Regions from separate parts of the Homo sapiens genome. Here region 2 is linked to region 1. The links are contacts of gene promoters, found by promoter capture Hi-C in blood cells and fetal thymus (Javierre and others, 2016). All regions are on one chromosome and are shown on one strand. Each heading gives the region's core, a stretch centred on a gene start or on the middle of the fragment in contact. The rest is flanking DNA. Distances are from core to core; before and after follow the strand shown.

The links. Contacts are between HindIII fragments. The CHiCAGO score rates a contact against its expected background, and 5 or more counts as called.
Region 2: a contact is called between a fragment that was not itself captured here and the fragment with the promoter of CCDC170 in region 1, in 1 of 17 cell types (neutrophils). The highest score is 5.5, in neutrophils.

What each region holds. Positions count from the first base shown.
Region 1 is chr6:151,491,982-151,496,253 of GRCh38, reverse strand. CCDC170 (coiled-coil domain containing 170) reads right to left here and starts at 2,237. Exons shown (of 11, transcript NM_025059.4): 1 at 2,069-2,237. The coding sequence starts at 2,125. The HindIII fragment of the contact is 3,463 bases long and covers 1-3,099 here.
Region 2 is chr6:151,384,484-151,388,755 of GRCh38, reverse strand. All of the region lies in intron 1 of ZBTB2 (zinc finger and BTB domain containing 2), which reads left to right. LOC124901232 (translation initiation factor IF-2-like) reads right to left here and starts at 436. Exons shown (of 3, transcript XM_047419613.1): 1 at 419-436. The coding sequence starts at 436. RefSeq lists an enhancer at 3,135-3,294. The HindIII fragment of the contact is 3,678 bases long and covers 1-3,557 here.

The sequences.
Region 1 (4,272 bases), core at 988-3,487:
ACCAATAATGGGATAAGCTGATATATGCCCCTCCTGATGTGATACTCTGAGACATAACATCTCTTATGTTATTCCTACCCAAAAATCTAATCACGAAGGACAATCAGAGAAACTTACTCTATAAAACGAATGACCTGGACTCTGCAAAAATGTCAGTATCATCAAAGACAAAAACAAACAAACAAAAAAACAAACAAAAAAAATGTGAAGAACTGTTCCAGGTTTGAAGAGACTGGAGACATAACTAAATACAGTGTGTGATCCTGAGATGGAAAAAAAATTGGCAATAAATGGCATAATTGGGACAAGTGGCAAAGTTTTAGTAGGTCGTGTATATTAGATAATATTATTGTCACAATGCTAAACATCCCGATTTTGATCATTGTATGTTCGTTAGAGAATGCCCTTATTCATAGGAGATAACACACCAGAGTATTTACAGATGAAAGGTCATAGGGGACCAGGCATGGTAGTGCATCTCTGTAATCCCAGCACTTTGGGAGTCTGAGGCAGGTGGATCGCTTGAGCTCAGGAGTTTGAGACCAGCCTGAGCAACACGATAAAACTCTGCCTCTGCAAAGAACACAAAAATTATCCAGGCATCATGGCATGCCTGGAGTCCCAGCTACTCTGGAGGCTGAGGTGAGAGGATCGTTTGAACCCAGGGGTGTCAAGGCGGCGGCGAGCCGAGATCGTGCCACTGCACTCGAGCCTGGGTAACAAGGTGAGACCCTGTCTGAAAAAAAGAAGAAAGAAAGAAAAGGAGGGAGGGAGAGAACAAGAGAAAAAAAGGAGAGAGAAAGAAAGAATCATGATGGCTGTAATTTACTCTCAATGGGCTCACCAAAAAAAATATATATTAATAATATAAAAATACCACATACTTATGTATGGTTAAGACACCACATTGGGATAAAAATTAATAAAGTCAAATATGAAAATGTCAGATGAAAGAAAAAACATCTAGTAACTGGCCTCTGAGTTAGAAAGAAAGAAAAAATAGTTTTATTTGCACACAGTGGTACTTATTTTCCACAAATATTCCAGGAATCAGAGAAATCTAAATACAGGTCAGATGTAAAACAACAATCAAAGCTGCTGAATATTAGAAGAATTCCGATGGCACGTTGGAGAATCCAACTCATGTTTTGAATCCACTACATCCCCCAGGGATATCTATGGTCAGTACACAGCGTGGTAGGAAAAGTCCAAAACTTTGGAAAGAAAGAAAAATCCTCCATCATTTACTAATTGGGTGAGTTACTTGCGGTTAGCAGTTGAGCTGAACACAATTCCCCCATCTCTGGCAACTACTCCCAATACACACGATACCCGGTGGGCCCCGATGCCAAGGCCAAAGGGGGATTCTTAACCCAGACTGAGCCAGCCAGATCTTCTTGTGCGCCCAAGTATGCATATGCCCGTGTTCGTGTGTGTGCGCGCCCGTGTTTGTTCGCGTATGTGCCTGTTCGCGTGTGTGCACGAGCGTCTGTGTATGCGCGCATGTTCGTGTGTGTGTGCGCGCGCGCATTGGTACATCTAATACCTGAAAGTCCCCAGTACCTAAGTAACTCCTGGGAGTAAATGAGTAGATGCATTCAGGAACAACTGAATTACCAACGTTTCTGGATTACTTCGCAACGAAAGGGCCGGTGACTCTACTCCGGGCTGGCCCTCCTCCTGCCACATCAGATTTTCCAGAAATTGCTCCGAAGCACACTTCAGTAGCTAAGCAGGGAAAGTTAAATGAAGGAATTCTTTGCTCCCAGGGGTGGCGGGGAGGAACTGCCCGGCCACAGTCTTTCGAATGTCACCGGTTTAAATGGTCAGAGAAGCAGAGTGGCACAACCTAAAATTCAGACGCGCTCCGCAAACTCCGGTCCTGCCCATCCCCTCCTGAAATCAGCGCCCTGGCAGTCCCAGGCCACAGCCCTCGCGGGCACAGAGCTGCTCTGATTCTGCCCACGCCTCCGGGAGGAAAAGGGTGCAAATCAGGGGCGCCTCGGCCCCTCCTGGGTCGTCTATCCCCAGGGCCACCCCCGCGCGCGGCCGGCGGCTGGGACCGTACCTCGGGCGCTGGCGAAGCGGCACCCAGCGCGATATGGCTGGTGCAGTCCAGGCTCATGACGACCCGAGCCCGGGGGCGCGCTCGGACCCGGAACCGGCCCTGAGGAAGCGGCGGCGCCGGGAGCCGGCGGGTGGCGCGGGTGTCTCCTCGGGCAACGGGTAAACACCGCGGGGACGCGGCGGCGCGCGGCTGCGCGCGAGTAGGGTGGCCCGGCCGCAGGAGGCCGGGGTGGACCCCGAACCCCCGAGCGTGGCCTCCGTGGCGAGGGCCTGCAACTGAGCGGCCGAAACTGCCAGGGCGACCTGGGGGGAGTCGGCGGGGATAACGGTCGGTCCTCCCGGTGGGACTCTGCAGTGAATGCAATTCCAGGCCTCATCCTTATGTCAGCGATAAATACAGCCAGTGGGCACTGTGAACGGTGCTGGCGCGAGTGAGGCATAGGAAACTTCACAAGGGTGAACGGAGCATTTATTTAGCACACACTGTGTGCAAATGTGTCTGCGAGCGTGCAACCTGTGCAGGTCCGGGTCCTGCGCTTGGTTTAATACTCAGCTGTCCCAGTCTTGACGTTTTTAGGAAGTTTTGAACAAGGTGTCCTGCATTTTCATTCTGTACCGGGGTCCACAAATTATGTAGCCTGCCCTGGTGTGCGTTCTTTCATTTCACCTTCTCAACAACCCTGCCTGGAAGTACGGGTACTAGTAATACCAGTGTTAGTAACAGCCACAGCTGCTCATTATGAAATACTCGTGCTCGTCCATGCACTGTTCTAAGTGCTTCCCACGTATGATCAATCTCCTTAAATGAAACAAGATTATGAAGTGGATGTTAGAATAATCCATCTGCAAGACAAGGCAACAGTCACAGGGAAATAAAATAAAATTTCCAAGATGTACAGGGTAAGTGGTAGAATGAAGATCAGGCTCCAGATCATAACACTAAAGCACAGAGAAGATGAGTAACTTGTTTAAGGTCCCACAATTTGTAGCAGAATCTGAAAATGGAATCTGCATTCACCTCACTTTAAAGCTTTTGGTGGGCCAGGCGCGGTGGCTCACTCCTGTAATCCCAACACTTTTGGGAGGCTGAGATGGGTGGATCACTTGAGGTCAGGAGTTTGAGACCAGCCTGGCCAAGAAGGTGAAACCCTGTCTCTACTAAAAATACAAAAATTAGCCGGGCGTGGTAGCGGACACCTGTAATACAGCTATTTGAGAGGCTGAGGCAGGGAAAATCATTTGAACCTGGGAGGCAGAGGTTGCAGTGAGCCAAGATTGAGCCACTGCACTCCAGCCTGGGTGACAGAGCAAGAATCTGCCTCAAAAAAAAAAAAAAAAAAAAAGAAAAAAGCCTTTAGTAGACTCCTATGCTGTTTGAGACACATGAAATCAAACAGGTGGGAGGATTGCTTGAGGCCAGGAGTTTGAGACCAGCCTGGGCAATACAGCAAGACTCTATCTCTACAAGTTTTTTTTTTTTTTTTTTAAATTAGCCAGGCATGGTGGTGCACACCTGTAGTCCTAGCTACTCAGAAGGCTAAGGCGGGGCCAGGTGAGGTGGCTCATACCTATAATCCCAGTACTTTGGGAGGCTGAGGCAGGTGGATCACCTGAGGTCAGGAGTTCGAGACCAGCCTGGCCAACATAGTGAAACCCTGTCTCTACTAAAAATACAAAAATTAGCTAGGTGTGGTGGCACATGCCTGTAATCCCAGCTACTTGGGAGGCTGAGGCAGGAGAATCGCTTGAACCTGGGAGGCGGAGGTTGCAATAAGCTGAGATAGCACCACTGTACTCCAGCCTGGGTGACAGAGCAAGACGCCATCTTAAAAAAAAAAAAAAAAAAGAAAGCTAAAGCAGGAGGATAGCTTTGAGCCCAGGAGGTCAAGGCTGCAGTGAGCTATGATCACCACTGCACTCCAGCCTGGGCGACAGAGCAAGAGCATGTCTCTAAAGACAACACAAAAAGGCAAAATCAGAGCTATGGCAGCTTTTCTTGGATTCCATCAGTCATCCTATGTGCATTCATATTGACCCTGAGGATTTCTTCATCTGGACAATGGCTTTTGAGCTCACGGTAACTTTGCCATATATCTAATCCAGAATCATCTCAAGGCTTTCACTTGATGCACCGTTAAAGAAAAAGTTCTTAATGAAAACTTAGGCTTTCAGAAATCTCCTATTAATAGTACAATTTGGAGTAAA
Region 2 (4,272 bases), core at 469-2,968, 110 kb after region 1:
ATATCTTAAACTTTAATATCAACTTTTCAGTAACCTCCAAAATCTGCACTTTTATAAGATAATATAAAATAATAGAAAAATGTGTTCATGGCCAGGGAAAGTGGCTCACGCCTATAATCCCAGCACTTTGGGAGGCCAAGGCTGGAGGATTGCTTGAAGCCAAGAGTTCAAAACCAACCTGGGTAACATAGATCCCACATCTCTATTAAAAAAGAAAAGAAAATGTATTCACCCCAACCCCATAGATATACTTTGCAATCCTGTGATTTCAAGTACCCACAGCATGCCCATGAGTAAGTGGATGTGCTTTCCCCAATTTGAGACTTACAAAATAGAGAAGGAAATATCTAAAGCTCATCTGTAGCATCGGCCTGGGATCAGCAGCTTTAGAGGTGGGAACTGCCCTTCCAGCTCTTACTGTTTCTTGGTGCTTCATTCCTAGCCCCACTCACCTTTCCCTGTAGGAACTTGGAAAAGCTGGGCAAGTCCCGTGGCACCAGCCTGCACAGGAGAGGAAGATTGAAAGAACTGGTTTGCTGGTAATTTTTTTACCATAAAATACCAAATGCACCTGGGAAAGGTCATTTATCATCACTTTTCCTATTTTCTTATGCTCTTTGGCTCTCCAAACATGACTGAAAACCTAAAAGGGAACTGAACATTTTTATTTCCCTGAAGAAAAAAAAAAAATGTAAACATTCTAAGCATTAGACTAAGAATATTTCTAAAACGTTCTTTATGCTCAAGTAGGTTATAATTTGTGCTAGCAAATTAAACTATTAAATAATTAAAATATTACTTCGAATTGATAGTAAATAAGATTCAGTATTTTTACAATGCCGATAGAGCCATTAAGATATGGAATCAGTAGCCACAGAACCCTTACAAGGAGTTGGCAGCCCAACATATGTAGATCCATTTTAGAAGCCAACTTGGAGGCTCATATTTATGCTCAAACTCATAACCCCCAGTTCACATGCTTGAGGTATGCATCACATGCCTTTGAGTGTCACTTTAAGAAAGTTCAGTATTCAAAGATAGGAATTTGAAAAATACTTTTATGTATCTGGCTAAGTACTTAGGGAAACTACTTTTTTACTTTTGTTAGAGATTTTAGTGTACTGTTCTCTTAAACAGGGGGCACTCGCTAAGTTCTGCACCAAGCAGGGTAAGCGTCAGAATCCTCTGGAATGAAGTGCGCATGTTCTCCTGCACCGGGAGAGTCATTTAGGTTCTCTGAGTCCCCAAAGTGATTCTGAACGGCGCTTGTCTAAGTGTGGTCTGCAGATCCTTTTGAAGCCCCAGGATCCTTTCAGGATTCAATGAAGTCAAAACTGTTGTCACAGTAATACTAAGTTGTTATGGCCTTTTCCGCTGTGTTGACAAAATGTCTTCTCAGTGTTGACACTGAGAAGATCTGCTTAATTCAGTGAGCCGATATTTTCCAAATGACCAACAGATGATGTTAAAAATCATGAGTGGGTAAATGATCCGTTGAAAGTGGATAGACCAATGAATATTACTATAATAGAGTAGGAAAAGTTAATTCAGTTATGTAGTTTTATATTACACAACCAACTTTTAAGAAAGTAGACTTGTCAAGTGTTGGTATAATATAAAAGAGGACTGTCCACAATTACCTGAAAAGGCTATTCAAATATATCTCCTTTTTCCAACTACATAGGTGGGTGAGGCTGGATTTTCTTCACTACTCAACCAAAACAGAGTTAATTGAGGAGTAAATGCAAAATCCAGTTGTCTTCTGTTAAAGAGAATTGCAAAAATATAAAAAGACACCACTTTGTTATTTTAGAAAATACAATTATTTTTTCATAAAAATGTTCTGTACTTTAACATGTAATGGCCTTATTGTTTTTAATTGAATTAAATATTTCTAAAATTTCTCCATTTTGGTAATTATCAGTAGTTAAAATCCATATAAACATATAATTGATGTTCTTAATAATTTTTAAGACCATTAAGGGATCCCAACACCAAAAAGTTTCAGAAGCTCTGCTCTAAAATATTGAAACATATTATTAAGACTTTGAGTTAAACACATTTGAAACTCACCTGTGTTATATACCCTGAACTACACATTTAGGTGATTATATTTTCTTCAGATTAATTTTACTAATCATTTTATGGTATATAAAAAACAAAGGCAATCTCCACTCTGGTGGATTATTAGAAGCAGATCAGTTTTTTGTTGTTGTTGTTTTGAGACAGGGTCTCACTCTTTCATGCAGGCTAGAGTGCAGTGGCATGACCATGGCTCACAGCAGCCTCAGCCTCCCTGGCTCAAGCAATCCTCCCACCTCAGCCTTCTGGTAGCTGGGACCATGGGCACATGCCACCACATTCAGCTAATTTTCTTTTTATAGAGACAGGGTCTCGTCATGTTGCGCAGGCTGGTCTCCGGGGCTCAAGTGATCTGCCCGCCTTGGCCTCCCAAAGTGCTGAGATTACAGGGGTGAGCCACTGTCCCAAGCCCAGATTAATTTTTTAATTTTGCCGTGTGTAATCATCTGTAAGTTTCCTTCAGGTTGATTGTAGCATAATGCCTTTAGAATTATTACTTTAATATGAACTCGTTATTAGCCATAAATCTCTGATCTACTTCTGTTTGACACCTAAGATGTCCCTGAATTGCCTCCTTATGACCCCAACTTACATTTGGAAACTAAAAACTAATTTAAGTGTAAACATAGGGAAAATATAATTGAAAACAGGAGTATTTTACAAATGCAGTGCTTTTTAATATGAAAATAAGTGCTGTTTATGCCTCTCTCTTTTCTAATTACTATGGAAGAAGGTTGACTAAGGAAATGTTAAGAAAAAAATGCCACTCCATTATCACAACTAAATAAGATGCATTTTCTACCTTCAAAATACAGTTTTAAAATGTATTAAAATTCAAATGACCAGCCTTCAGGTTTACTTCATGGGCCCTCCAATATTAATTATTAATAATAGTAATTGAAAAATCAGCTTTTCATCCTAGTAAGTGGTCTAAACTACTTGAAAGAATCAATCTTACTTGTGGGTAATGCCTCTGCTGTTACTGATTGTCCTTTGAATTACAATATTCATTTATGCTTCACTTAAATAAAATCAAGGACTTCAGAGGACCCTTTTAGTGCCCTTGAAATGGGTAGTGTAAGTGGTGTTTAGTGTCTTAGAACAGCTATTATCTTTAAAAACTGAATCAACAATTTCCACAAGCTGTTTTGATCTCCTATTCTTACACTGAAAATGAAGGAGGAACTTAGGTTGTCAAAATACAACATAATTGTATGTGCCCCATTCTTCTGCACTTCTAAAAGGATGAGTGAGTTGCTTACGGATCAGCCCACATGTGCTCTGTGATGAAAACTGAAAGCAAGTGACAGCTAGGTGGTCAATGTCCTGTTATCAAGGAGGAAACAGTGGCAATGAAAACCAAAGCATTAAATAATCTGAAAGGTCATTTGTATTTGGCTCTAGGAAGTGTTTTTTATTTTTTCAACATGAGTATGTCTTATAGTCTCTGAATTTACTTAAGAAAAGTAAAAGCTTTGTACACATACATATACAGAAAGAAGGCATTCCATGAAAACCCATTTATAGGCACTGCCTCCTCTCTCCTGTGCTACTTTTCTTCAGTTCCTCTCAGCTCACTATTCTAATTTAGAAAAGACAAATGACTTGTTTTTTATTTAGTTGGGTTTTTTTTAAGTTCATATACAGTGTTAAATGGTTAGGGATTTTACATAGGTCTTCAGTTTCATGTCTTGATTGTCGGCCCTTTGTGACTGCGATCAGTAAGAACTTTTAGGAATGCTCTGTAGGGCAAGGTAGTAGAGTGGAGACAACATGAACTGTATGCCCAGAAGACCAGAGTTCAATCCTGACTCTTATTTGTTGATAATTTTAACCTCTCTCAACTACAGTGTAGTGATTTAAGGACATGGTTTTTCTGAAGACGCAGACAATTCACAGTCAGGACTTCCAAGCTCCAGACCAGTGTAACCAACATATACTCTGCATCTCCACTTGGTTATCTCAAAAGTATCTCAAACCCAACATGTGTGAACCTAACCTCTTGCTCTTCCCGCCAAATTATTATTTGCCCTGTGTTCCCTCCTGTTGGAGGGCACCAAGATCTATGCGGTTATACAAATAAGAAGTCTAGGAAGTCATCTTGGACACTTTGATCTGCTCCATTCTCCTTCATCTGACTCAACCAGGTCTGTTGATTTTTTACCTTCTAAATATCTTTTGAATCCTGTC